Regions from separate parts of the Homo sapiens genome. Here all the other regions are linked to region 3. Evidence: promoter capture Hi-C in 16 types of primary human blood cells and fetal thymus (Javierre and others, 2016). All regions are on one chromosome and are shown on one strand. Each heading gives the region's core, a stretch centred on a gene start or on the middle of the fragment in contact. The rest is flanking DNA. Distances are from core to core; before and after follow the strand shown. Region 1 overlaps MIR9-2HG (MIR9-2 host gene). Region 2 overlaps MEF2C-AS2 (MEF2C antisense RNA 2). Region 3 holds the start of NR2F1-AS1 (NR2F1 regulatory antisense RNA 1). Region 4 overlaps MIR9-2HG (MIR9-2 host gene).

Evidence for each region. Contacts are between HindIII fragments. The CHiCAGO score rates a contact against its expected background, and 5 or more counts as called.
Region 1: a fragment that was not itself captured here is called in contact with the fragment with the promoter of NR2F1-AS1 in region 3 in 1 of 17 cell types (total B cells); the score reaches 5.4 in total B cells.
Region 2: a fragment that was not itself captured here is called in contact with the fragment with the promoter of NR2F1-AS1 in region 3 in 2 of 17 cell types (total B cells and naive B cells); the score reaches 30.3 in total B cells.
Region 4: a fragment that was not itself captured here is called in contact with the fragment with the promoter of NR2F1-AS1 in region 3 in 2 of 17 cell types (total B cells and naive B cells); the score reaches 40.4 in total B cells.

What each region holds. Positions count from the first base shown.
Region 1 is chr5:88,649,588-88,652,831 of GRCh38, reverse strand. The region is part of intron 2 of MIR9-2HG (MIR9-2 host gene); the gene reads left to right. Among named protein-coding and RNA genes, the nearest start is that of MIR9-2, 16 kb to the left of the region's middle. The HindIII fragment of the contact is 1,156 bases long and covers 1,130-2,285 here.
Region 2 is chr5:88,689,054-88,692,428 of GRCh38, reverse strand. The region is part of intron 1 of MEF2C-AS2 (MEF2C antisense RNA 2); the gene reads right to left. It overlaps GSCAR (glioma stem cell association long noncoding RNA), which reads left to right. Exons shown (of 3, transcript XR_007058863.1): 3 at 1-672. It also overlaps a transcript of MIR9-2HG not described here. Among named protein-coding and RNA genes, the nearest start is that of MIR9-2HG, 5.9 kb to the right of the region's middle. RefSeq lists a silencer at 1,012-1,238 and enhancers at 1,794-2,473, 2,474-3,152. The HindIII fragment of the contact is 1,189 bases long and covers 837-2,025 here.
Region 3 is chr5:93,579,443-93,582,517 of GRCh38, reverse strand. NR2F1-AS1 (NR2F1 regulatory antisense RNA 1) reads left to right here and starts at 1,299. Exons shown (of 8, transcript NR_186187.1): 1 at 1,299-1,376. RefSeq lists a silencer at 854-903 and an enhancer at 1,024-1,123. The HindIII fragment of the contact is 7,751 bases long and covers 1-3,075 here.
Region 4 is chr5:88,670,745-88,674,167 of GRCh38, reverse strand. It overlaps MIR9-2HG (MIR9-2 host gene), which reads left to right. Exons shown (of 4, transcript NR_152235.1): 2 at 3,083-3,132. Among named protein-coding and RNA genes, the nearest start is that of MEF2C-AS2, 3.8 kb to the left of the region's middle. RefSeq lists enhancers at 1,277-1,890, 1,891-2,503. The HindIII fragment of the contact is 7,016 bases long and covers 1-3,423 here.

The sequences.
Region 1 (3,244 bases), core at 458-2,957, 4.9 Mb after region 3:
TGAGCTGAGATCGCACCACTGCACTCCAGCCTGGGTGACAGAGTGAGACCCTGTCTCAAACAAACAAACAAACAACAACAACAAAAAAAGCTCACTCTAAGAAACCTAAGATCAGGTTCAAGTGACTAACAAATTGTGGGATACCTATTAATGAGTATATTAATAGAAATCCACAGTAAAGACAAATTAGTATGAATGACAAATGAAGGATTATTTGGAGAAAGTAATATTTGCATTTTTGAGTCGGGGCTTTGAAAGACTTGTAGAATTAAGATAGTTAGAAGAAACAGCATTATTGGTTAGAAAAACAAAATGATCACTGATGACCTGAATGCATGAAGGAGCACAGCACGTTTTTGAGAATGAGAAGACAGTAGAGTTTTATATTCAGTAGTGATGATTATATTTGTGGATAGATGGAATAAGGCCAGATTATTTATATTCTTGAAACTTGGCCAGCAGGGAGACTTGATGATAGAAATTACAGATAGTTACTTCAGATTTCTTCTTTGATATATTCAACAAATATTTATTGAACAGCTACTGTGTGCAAAGTGCTGCACCAAGCATGGGAGAACAGTGGTAAACCAAATCCAATTCATGCCCTATCTCATGAAATATTCTAGTCGGGAAGCTAGACTTTAAACAGCAATTACACAATTACACAATTAACTAATTAGTTATGGAATGATACATTTTGTAATGAAGAAGTACATAAAATTATGAGAATATGTAACTAGTCTGAGACAAGGACTGGAGTTAGGAAATTTTCCCTTAAGATGTAACGTTTGACAGGGTTAACTAGAGGAGGAGTAGATGACTGAGCAAAGGGAAGGGGTCAGGCAGACCTTTATAGATAAGGAGACAACACATGTCAAGGCCCCCAGGTAGGAAGAAGGCTTTCATTTTGAGGAACTTTAAGCTCAGTGTGATTAGAGTACAGAAATATATGGAAATCAGGTAGGATGGACTAAGATGAGGTTAGAGAGGGAGACAGACTTTGTGGGGTTTTGATCTTTGACCTAAGTGTGGTGGAAAGCCACTGAATGATTATAAACAAGGGAGTGGCATGTTTGGATTTATTTACACTTTAAACAGATCATTCTGTCTGAAGTATGAAGAGCAAGCTTGTCCAACCCATGGCCCATGGGCTGCATGTGGCCCAGGATGGCTTTGAATGCAACCCAACACATGAGATTCTTTTGGTGATTTTTTTAAAAGCTGATCAGCTATCATTAGTCTTAGTGTATTTTATGTGTGGCCCGAGACGATTATTCTTCCAATGTGGTCCAGGGAAGCCAAAAGATTGGACACCCCTGATGTAGAGTAAGAAAAGTGTGGTTGAGGGAAAAGTAGTTATGTAGCAGAGGTAATTGTTAAAAGATGATTGTGGGTTGGACTAGGGTGTTTGTAGTGAATCTTAAAGGTGTTATGATACAAAATATGACCACATAAACAAAATGAGGTAAGTAGCATTTAAAGAAGTTTCACCGTAATCAGTATTCAGGTGAGCCACAATGGGCCTAGTAGGGAATTAGGGAAATAGTTGGAGACTGTTGAAATAATCTGAGAAGGTGATGAAACCTGAAGTTGGGAACAAAGAAGAGAAGACATGTGATAGAGACATTTTAAAAAGAACAACATGTAGATTTTTTGACCTAACGTTTTGTCTTAGTACCATAGTGGCTTTGGTGGCTAGAAGAAGGAGGGTGGAAGGAAAAACAATCAACTCCTTTCAGAAGTGGGGAGTTTGCAGTATCATCCAGTTAATCAGAAAGTCCAGATATAGGAGTATGATTCTATTTGGAAGGCATCAATAGACATTTGTGATTAGGTTAAAATGATAAAATATGTGAAGTTTGCCAAGGAAAGTATAGAGAGCAGAGAATAGCAAGCCCAAGTATGGACACTGACACTGGGGGAAGGAATAAGCAGATGTCACTCATGGAGTAGTTTACATCTGGAAACAGTCACTCTTTGTAATTTCCTTTTGAAAACAACTTATTTTAGCTGTTTGCAATTTGCTTTTGAAGACAACTTATTTTAGCTGTTTAATGTGTGTTCAGTTATTGAAACAAGTCCTCACAAAATGTCTGCAGTTTGCCACATTTAAGAATATGTTATGTTGAAAGAAAGGGAGGAGAGACTAGTTGGAGACTGTTCATATAATTCTAGAAATAATTGGAATGTAAGTAATGCTTCATAAACACATAAATTAAACATGATTATCAAGTTATCCATTATATGCTCAAGTTCATAGGAATTCCTTTTAAAAAATATAAGCTTATTTCTTCATTTAATAAGTATTTATTGAGAACCTGTTACTACTTTTGGTCCTACTGATTTCTGATTATGGAATCTACATTTTAAAGAGGAAAGATAGTAAACAAGTAAATAAAAGAAAATATCAGATAGTTATCAGTGTTATGATAAATAAAACATAAAAGGGGACTTACTTTAGAATGGGTGGCCAGGCAAGACTTACTTGAGGAAGTAATGCTTAAAGTGACACCTTAATACATGAAAGCATAATGATTACATTTAAAAAACCTATAATGAGATACATATACTTGTCCATCAATTTACATGAGATTAATGAACCTATTTGGGTTTAATAGAAGCTAAAAATCTTGACTTGATTTCTCTTGGTTCTCTATTCAAGACTATAAAAGACAGAAGGGTAGAGGGCAAAACACTGTGATATGAATGTGATTCTTTGCATGCTTCACTTCCATAATTATGCATCCAAGTTCAAAGAAAAAGCTACAGGAAATAATTTCTTTTCTTTTTTTAAAAAAAATTCGATAGATTTTGGCCAGGTGCAGTGGCTCACGCCTGTAATCCCAGCACTTTGGGAGGCTGAGGCGGGCAGATCATTTAAGGTCAGGAGTTTGAGACCAGCCTGGACAACATGGTGAAACCCCATCTCTACTAAAACCATAAAAATGTGCTCCAGCCTGGGCAGGGTGAGACTCTGTTTCAAAAAAAAATTAGCCATGCGTGGTGGCAGGTGCCTGTAATCCCAGCTACTTGGGAGGCTGAGGCATGAGAATCTCTTGAATCCGGGAGGCAGAGATTGCAGTGAGCTGAGATGGCACCATTGCACCCTAACCCGGGCGACAGAGCGAGTCTCCATCTCAAAGAAAGAAAAATCAGTAGGTTTTTGGGGGAACAGATGGTGTTTGGTTACATGAATAAGTTCTTTAGTCATGATTTCTGAGATTCTGGTGTGCCCATCACCTGA
Region 2 (3,375 bases), core at 182-2,681, 4.9 Mb after region 3:
CACATGCGGGCGCAACAAGGTAACTGCGCTCCAGGCGTGGAACCCCAGTCCTGAGCGATGTGAAACCAACCCCAAGCGGGCTGTGCTCACAGTTTGGGAAAAGGTAATGTCTCTGATCCCCCCATATCCACCCCTCCCCCAACCCTTGAGGACAGATTCGGGTACCGCAAAACCGCCAGGCACAGAAGGGAGGAGAGCTGGGACGGACAGGCTACTCCCGGGGAGGGGATCACCTCCACGTTCCCGCTCCAAGCGGCTGGTAGCTGCTAGTAATTCAGACTTCTGGCCTCGGAGGAAGAGTGCCAGGGAAGAAAGAGACTAAGAAATCCTCAAACGCCCGTAGAACAAGACCCGGGAGAAGTGCCCAAGTGGGCGCGGCCGTCGGCGAGGTCAGTTTAGCCTGTACTGGACCGTGGAACCCTGAGCGCTGAGGCTGTGGGGTCGCGGGATTCTACTGGGCCTCGCCAGCTTCCACAGTCTGCTGCGGTCTGTGGAATGGGGAAGGATAAAATACAGACTTTGGTTTATTTTAAAAAATGGTATTCTGCCTGAACTATCAGGTCCATGGTTTGCTTTTGGCGCTTGCAGAAGCACCAGGACGATCTTTCCAAAAATTTCTGCAGTAGTTTAACTAACCAATGAAATAAATGAAGGTTAAAAAACCAAAACAGATCATTTTCTCCTCTTGGCCTTTATTTTATTTTTGTTAAGCGAAGGGGTTCTTTTGTTCTTATTTTTGTCTTCTTATTTGCCTGAGGGGTGTGAACTCAGGAGCATCTGGACCTTTCCACACATCATTTGTTCGATTACTTTCTTGTTGTTGACCCAACTAAGCTTTTTACGTTTTTTTTTTCTCAATTCTTTACAGAAAAAAAAAAAAATCTTGGGAGTACTGATGAACTTTGTTTACAGAATCACACTCCGACTCCTTCCCCTGAATCGCTGGTGCCTCCGGAGCTTTGAAAGCCCTGCTTTTCTCTAGGTTCAGAAACCAAAGTTATTCACGCTCACTTCTCAAACCCTTTCCATATGTTCTTCTCTCGCTGGAAAAACTGATAAGTAACAATGTGTGTGTGCACGCGCGCTTAAATTGCGTTTAGATTTCAGATACATCAGAAGAGCTAAGGTCTTTGGTCGACACCACTTGCTGACGGCTCTTTCTCCCTTAAATTGGGGACTTGTGTCCCTCCCTTGCATTGGATTCAGAGGAGACACGCGAGCAGCTGCTCAGGAAAGAGTTTTCTCTGCTACACGCTCACTCGCGCTGCATATCTCCTCATGTCCACTAGAGGTCACTGGCCCCTCGCGGCTCGCGGTGCTACCGGCCGCCTCCCGCTCCTGAAGCTCAAATTAGCGCGTTAATTAACACCCGAGTCCATCAAGGCGCGTTCCTCAGTACAGTACTCCAGCAGGGCTTATATAGACAAACCAAACCCAGCCAAATCAAACCTCCCCAAATCCAACATTTCCTGCATGTCCAAAATGGGAGACAGGCGCCTGAGTAACCCGGGGCAAGGTATAGTGCAATCACGCTTTAACTTTTGTTCTGTGGGGCTTGCTAAGTTGCTGTGAAGATAACATTCTCTGCGAGCGCAGGTTCGGCGGGGCCCGGCTCCGTTCTCCAGCTCTTCAAGGCTGGGCAGCGTGAGTTTTGGCCCCCGCAGCACACTGGTCCTCCGAGCGAGTTTCTCCAACACGGTCGCTACGGGGAAGAGGGGCGCAGGTCCACACCGTCCTAGGCGCACACGAATGTAAAAGGAGAATATTTGTTTAGGATATGATGCACAAGAAAATGCCCAGATGTGGAGAAAAGAAATATAAAATATGACGTTTCTCCTGCCTTTTGATGAGAAATGGGGAAGGGGCGGGGGTTGACTGTGGAGACCGACGCCGGGAATTGACTCTGGTGATTTTAACGCGGGAGCTAGGGGGGTGGCTGCGATGTCCAGAGAAGGTCACTGACTCTTGCTTATTGTGCGTGTGTGTGTGTGTGTGTGTGTGTGTGTTTAAGGTCCACACGAAGCTTTGGGTCTAGCTTTTATTTTATTTTATTTTATCTCAACCAAAGCCCAATAAGCATTTCCCACTATGGACTGGGAGGAATTAGTCACGTCTCCAGGGCCTCAACGAAATCCTTAAGGACTGCATGAAACCAAGCCCAAGTTACATTCCAATAGCGCTGTCCACGATCGTGATATTTGTAAATCGCCATGACGAGTCCCTTTGACATGGTGCCCTAGTGAGTGGAAGAGGCGCCTCTAGAGCTCTTAATTCTTTTGAGAAAAAATCTTGGAAACATTAATTCGCGTTCTGACAAAAGGGTTTACAAGGCTCGGGGTCTTTTGCCTTAGCGGGGAGCAGGAAGTTTGGAGAGGAACAGTGTGGATTCCTAGGAGTTTGGGGACTGACCTTTGTTTTTCATGGGATCATTGGTGCGGACCCCAAAGATCGGGACGGTCGGGCCTTCACTAGAGAGGGATCCAGCGTGTTAACCACCGTTTGCCCCAACTGTTCAGCCGTAGGCAAAATTAGCCTGCCGCGCCCTCATTGCGGGATGGGGCTTCTCCTGGGTTAGTTTAATGATGGCCGATTAATAAAGCCATTGTCCGCCTTCAGGCGAAAGCAGCAGCCGGGGCGGGTTATGGGCCGCGTCCACGTGTTAGGCCACGCCGCAGGCACCTCCAAGGTCCGCATCAATAGCACCCAGGGGGCTGGCGGGAGTGAGAGCTTCCGGCAGCCCCGCGGCAGATGAGTCCTCCGCTGGTGACGGGGTCGGAGGGGGCATCCCTGGAAGCCCGCCCCAGTCTGGAGGAGAAAGGGGCGTCCAATGCTTCCTGATAAAGCTCTGGGACTTCGAAACTGCGGCTATTTTTTTTTTATCGCAGTCCCAAATTATTAGGGAGCAACCCTTGGAGCATTCCCTGCAGAATCCAATCCCTACCTGAACCCCCAATGAGGGGCCGCCCCCCATCCCACACTTCGTTCCTCTTCCCCTTCGCCTTCGGCTTGGGCGCTACTGAGCCGGCGTTCCAGGTTGGAGCAGTCGCCAGAACCTGATCTAGCTCCAGGGCAGGCACAGGTGTCAGCTTGAACTGGCATTATGTAATGGATTTGGCAGCTCTGGCTCTTTCCAAACGGAATTAAGAAAGGTGGGGCTTTCCTTTTCTTTTCTTGACCTTTTATTTTGACTACATCTGGTCAGGTGTACTCAATCCGTGGCAGCAGGTGTTATTGCAGGAAAAGACGAAGCGGAATGGCGGCAGAGGTTAAAGCACTCCCAGGGAGCGGCCCAAGAGAGGCCCGGGGGCCCTGGGAAGAGCCTCAGCGACCCTTCCCTGAGCCACTCACCTGAGGCCGTAGCTGCAGGCGACCTGA
Region 3 (3,075 bases), core at 50-2,549:
AGTCTGGATTCTGCTCATTTTATATCCTTTTTAGAAACAAGTAGAAACAGGGTAGGATCTCCCTATTTTTTAATCCAAAGTATACCTTGGTTTAAAAGGTTTAATGATGACAAAGCACACTCCTGGAATTTGCAGCTATTGCCACAAATTCGATCGGAATCAAGGGTTCCTATTTATCCCAAAGATGATTTTAAAAATAAACTTTCCAATCAATCCAATTTTTCCTTCTTCTTTTTTTTTTTTTTTATCACCTGGCTGTTCCAAACTCCAACAATGCTTCAATCATTATTAATAAAACAGTAGTAAGTCCCCATATTGTTGCAGGGTGGGGGGAGATTAGTGTGGCCAAGTCAGTCCCGGGAAAAGAGCAAACAAACGAGAAGATGGAGAGGGGGGGAGGCGGAGAGGGAGAGAGAAAAGGGGGAGGAGGAGAGAGAGAGACAGAGAGAGAGGAGAGGAAAGGAAAGAGAGGAGAGAGGAGAGCGCGCGAGATATTGAGAGAGAGAGAGAGAGAAGAGAGGAGAGGGGAGAGAGAGAGAGAGGAGAGAGAGAGAGACCCAGAGAGAGAGGAGAGAGAGAGAGACCCAGAGAGAGAGAGAGAGAGAGAGACCCAGAGAGAGAGAGAGAGACCGAGAGAGAGAGGAGAGAGGAGAGAGAGAGAGAGGAGAGAGAGAGAGAGAGGAGAGAGAGAGAGAGAGAGACGAGAGGGAGAGGGAGAGGGAGAGGGAGAGGGAGAGGGAGAGGGAGAGGGAGAGAGGAGAGGGAGAGGGAGAGGGAGAGGGGGAGAGAGAGAGAGAGAGAGAGAGAGAGAGAGAGAGAGAGAGAGAGAGAGAGAGAGAGAGAGAGAGACCGAGACCCCGATTCCTGAATCCTGAAGGTGATTGGTCGCGGGAGGAGGGGCAGGCGGGAGGAGCGGGTCCCGCGGCGGGGCTTGCAGGAATCGCTGGCTCCGGCTGCCACCTAGCGGACGGGAGCCGCTCCCGGGCGGCACACAGCCGAGTCCCTCCTCCCCTCCCCGCAGGCAGCCTGTGCCTTTTCTCCAAACGAAGACAGCACTTTGAAAATTCTTTCAATGGATTTTTTTTTCCTTGAAAGATCGTACTGGGGGAAAATGATACTTCTATTAGTTACATATTCTCCAATCGCATACTCGCACCCCCCTCGTTTTGAGATCGCTCCCCTAGGCAGGCTCAGGCGGGCGCGGAGCCGCGCGGAGTGACAAAGCCGCCGCTGCCGCCGCCGGGGGTGGGAGCCGCGCTCGCCCGCCCGCCCCTCGACTCGCGAGGGCGTAAAAGTTTGTCTCAGCTCGAGCATTCCTAGCGCCAACACGCCCTCAGGTAAAGGTGGAAGTAAATGGCCACGCTGTATTGACAGAGGTAGGGTTTGTTTTTTAATACTCGTTCTCACTTTAAGTCTCACCAGGGAGGGGTTTGGGAAGCACTGCGTGTTTGGGGGACGTTTTGCGCTTCCTGGTCTCTCCAGCCTACAAGTCGGGAGTCGGCGACCGCTTAGTGACGAGCGATGATTTTAAAGAGCAGAATAAAAGGTTTTCCCGTGCCTGCCCCACAGCCCCTCCAGCTCGAATAATGGAGAACTGTCAATGCACTCCGCGAGCGGTGGCCCATTGTACGCAGCTGATGGCGAGGAGGCGACTGGGGGTAGCAGGGGCTCCTTGCCCTCGTCCCTATGCCCAAATAAACGCGCAAACGCGCTCCCGTCTTCTGGTCAGTTAAAAGGTGAAACGAACACGATTAAAATAGACCAAAAGAAAAGAAAGAAAAGAAAACCTTTCTATGTACAGATTCTAAATCGTACTCCCCATACAGTCAGAGGCAGGGAGTCGAGGGCAGAGGCAGCAGGCGGAGAGAGGGAGATAGGGCGAGGGAAGGAGAACGCGGAGAGAGACGAAGGGAGTGGGAGACCAGCGACAGCGAGCGCCAGGGCACCGCAGGCACACTGGATGCCCAGTCCGCCGGCCCAGCCGCCCTCGGACCCTGGACCGTGCGTCGTGGGCACCAGAAACGAGACTCGGCCAAATCCTGCCTCACCAGGCAAGTAACATAATGGTTGTCGTTTCTCTTGAACTTGGGGTTGGTAACGGGCAGGGCCGGGAGGCAGTCTTGGCTCGCACGGCCTCCGCAGGCCGAGAGCAGAGTCTAGGCAGCCAGGGCGGGACGAGGAGAACTTTCTTCGGGGCCTGCTCGGGAGTTGCCCTCGCTCGGCCTCTGTCTCGCCGTAGCGCTAAGGCGAGGATCGCGGCCGCCGCGCCTCCTTGGAGGGGAGGATCGTGCCAGGCGAGCAGCAATCCACATTCAAAACAGGCTGCTCCCACCCCCACCCGCTATTCCCTCTCTCTCCTAGGCGGGAAACGGATGCCCGGGCGGAGGACGGGGACCCGCACGTTTAACACCGGCCCGGCTGTTCCTGCTGGTGCCGAGCGCGACCCGCGGTGGAGCCGGCTGCAGAGTCCGGCCCGGCTGGCCCTTGTGCCCGCGCCTTGCCTGGTTACGGCCTGAACCTGGCGAGCTTGGCTGCAGCCGCCCACCTGCGGACGCCGTTTGTAACGCCATCCCCTAATGTAACGCGATCGATGGCTGCCTGTCTGATGTGGGCGATAGTGTCAGCGGATTAAAAGGGACATCGAGCCGCTCTCCCGAGCAGACAACCTGCGGCGGCGGCGAGAGAGCACCGGGATTCGCAGCCTAGCAGCCGAGCCAGACTCCCTGCGCCGCTGCCAGCCGGCTGGGGGCGGGGAGGGGGTCGCCTCCCAGGGGTGGGGACAGAGGGGGTGTGTTGAAAGGAAGAGGCTCAATTAAAACCAACAAGAGCGCTTTCCTCCGTGCGGGGCAGGGGCGTGCGTTTGCGTCAGAGGGCGCGCGGGGGGCGGGGGCAGCCGATGCTGGGGACTGCACCCGGGGGCTGGGGGGTCTCGGAAGCGAGGAGGCCTTGCCTAGCTGGGCTGGCCCGGGGTCAGGCCCTGTAGGTGAGGGCCAAGGCGAGACGGGATGACAGCTGAGCCTGCCCGGGAGCAGAGGCGCCCACCCATCCTTACTGTGGGCTCTCCGTGCCCCCACA
Region 4 (3,423 bases), core at 321-2,820, 4.9 Mb after region 3:
GAAGGCAGACGCGCGCGCGCGCGCGCACACACACACACACACACACACACACACACACCCGCTTTTTCTTCCTCCTCAAATAGATGACCCCTATGGCGCGTCCCTGGTACATTTAGAATACCTCTAGAGTTTAGAGAATAAAATTCTTTAGAATGCATTGCTTGTCTTTAGCTAAACACATTTAACAACCACGACACAAACGGGGAGGAGTGAAGAAGGGGGACTTGAACCAAAAGACCTTTAAAAAAAAAAAAGTCTGCGAGTCAAAAGGTCATTCTCCAAGTTTGTAAATAAAATTGCAAAGGGAGTCCTTAAGAAAGGAGAGGAAAGAAGGGGAAGAAGGTTAGGAAGACTCACAAGTTACATAAAACAGTGCATTGGAAAAACGACAGGGAGATTCTGTAATAAAAAAAAAAGAAGAATCTTAAGAAACCAAGAGAGAGAAAAAAAAACTGGAGGAAAAAAGAAAAAGAGAAGAAAAGGATTTTAAAAAAAAGAAAAAAGCAAAAGAAGTTTCCAAAGAAATGTGTGCTTTGCATCCTACAATAGGAAAATGTAGCCATTGCCTTCCTTCAGACGAGACATTTCTAATTTGTTCCGTCTGTCAGGAGGGGACTATGAGAGGTTTGGGTGCAAATTCATTATCTCTGGCAACGCAGAACGTAGTGTGGGGACTGAAAAAGACCGTGGCAATGGATGAACAATAGGGCTTCAGTTCATCAGTAACAAAAGCAGTGGGGAAATTGGTTGAGTTTCAGAGCACGTCCTCCTCGGCAGAGGGGGCTGGACTAGACCTTGGACAGCCCCCCCAAAAACTTGCCAAGCCTCGCACACACCACTTCACTCTCCACTCCGAGGCTCAGGGAGCAAGTGCCTGGCATGGGGGGTAAAAGTTGGCTTTTTTTTTACTCCTTGGTCTTTTGCGCCCTTCTCCCTCTCCCCAGAAGGGAAGACCCATTTAAACTATTTTAGACGCAATCAACCAAGAATCACCATGTGGAATTGAGCGGCAGTTTTAAATGTGTTGAGCAGGGGAGAGGAATGATGAGAAAAACATTTTTTTTTTTTTTTTTGGAGACGCCGAAAGAAGCCTGTTTGTGTGCTGCGGCCGTGCTGTGACTTTGGATCTTGTCTTTCAGCCGGCGCCTCGGTTCCTGCCCAGCTGGATTTGGGGGGCAGCATTGCCTGGCGCAGGGAGATCAAGTGAGTATCGTGGCGGCCCTCAGGCTGCAGCTCGCCCGCGGCGCGAGGCCAGCAGTGCCCGCCGCGGCCCCGCGCCCGCACTCCTCACCTCGCCCGCTAGCCGGTGCCCGCAGAGTCCCGCTGCGGGCCGCTCCGAGGGCCAGTCCGGGGCTTTGCTTCAGCTAATTGATTGTGTGCCTCGGATGTTAAACCTGTTGATCTCGTGAGTTTTCTTAGCCAGTACTGTTAATTATCCAGCGGCTTGACCCCCAATCGCAGAGAGATGCCAGGAAATCTTCGCGTTGGAAAAGGGAATTTTTGTATGTAATTTTGTGGTGGTGGTGGTGGTGGTGTGTTTGGGGGGGCTTTTCCCTTTTAAACCTAGAGCAAAATGCACTTGTATTTTGCACTTCTGTATTCGAATTCGCATTTTGAAGAATTCGCCTCCCTTTAACCGCCCCAAAGTTGCAATTACCTGGCAAGGAAGCGAGGGTCTGATTAGATTTTGGTGGAAAACTTAGTACAGTAGCTAAGTAGATCTGGTGGCTTTCCACTTCCCTTTTCTCTTTGCCTTTTGAATTTTGGGAGGTGAGAGGCCGCTTTACAGGGTTATCCCAAGTTCAGATTCATCAAGATGCAACCATCATGGTTAGTTATTGGTACTTGGAGCGGTTCAGCTTAAGACGCTTCTGGTATCCAAACGGAGCTAGGTCTTTGCGGTTTGCTTAGAGTCTAGACCCGGCTGAGGAAGGCAAGAACTCCTTTCTGTGGCCTGGAATTATCTGCAGGAACCCAGGGTGATGGGAACTCGGGCAATGTATTTGCATTAGTGTCTGCGGCGTTTTATCTTGCAAATGTACCCGCGGTGCTTGAATGGGGGACTGTCTTGAGGGGTCAGGAGAGCAGTGGAATTGATCAGAAGTTAGACCGGAGGCTCTGTCAAGTCACGGCCACGGCCGGGGGCCCCTTTGGAGCTGTGGCTGCCTTGGGCCCAGCACCGCAGAGTCGGGTTCCGTTTCCTCCCTTTCTTGGTGTCCACCTCTGTCTACCACCCTCCTTTCTCCACCTTGGCACCGGTAATTAGGGCGCTGTCTCAGGAAGCGAGCTCCCACAGTCAGCATAATTAAACCAGGGCAATACTTTCATTTTGCAAAACCAATAGCCCCACCCCTCCAGTCCAAAATAACAATAAGCATTAAAAAATCATAAAAGAAAAACAACCTATTTTGGGGAGTATTGAATTCCTGAATGTTGGATCGAGAGGGAATGGGGGAAGGGAAATTTTCAAAAATCCACCACTTTACAGCAATCAGGTTTTACATTATTCATTGATTTACTGGAGGAAAGAGCCAATCAGGAGCCATAGATATGAATGCACATCTCACGGTGCTGTGGCCTTACAGTAAACTATTTGCATCTTTCTAATGGAGTAGATATTTATCCAGGGATTGCCATTGTTCGAAAGGCCTGGAAATTCAGTTCCTTAAACATTTAGAAAATAAGACTTTGTTCCAGACTTAAAATCCTTACATGGAAGGACTCTCCTCTTTTGTATGGCAGGTTACAAGGTTCAAGTCCCTAATGTTTTTTTAAGAGTCCCTCTTCCTTCCAAGCTAAAAATAAAAGAAAAGAAGAAAGAAAAATTAATTTCTCAAACCCCTCCAGATTCTGCATATTTTGCATTCACATTATCATGCATGTCTCCATTTGAATGCAAATTAGCATATTTAACCCCGTGGGTGCTGAGACCTAGGATACATTGTACTGGGGTTTTATGGAATCTCTGGCATTTTAAGGAATCATGTTAATAGCAATATTTTAAATGAAGCAATATCTATATGACTTCATATGTATACATATATATAAACTGTGATCATTTGTTTTCTTGACTATTTTTCAGATGAGACTGCAAAGAAGCATAAAATGAATAGACAATCCAACCAACCAAAGGTAATTTTAAAATTTACATTTGATAAAATCCAAGTGATGTACAAAATAGAGTATTATTTACTAGGCGGTAGGCATGCAGTGGGTTGCATATCTCCTAATTCATGCTCTAAGTTTCTATATGTGCAGCCTTCTCCTCTACAGGGAGCCTTTGTATATTATATATCAAGCATAATACAAATATAACCTGTAACTGCCTATAAAAAAGAAATTCAAGATACAGAGTAAATAATAGAATACTTTTGTTAGAAAGTAAGCCAGTCAGGTACCTTGCCTGAACTATACAAATCACTG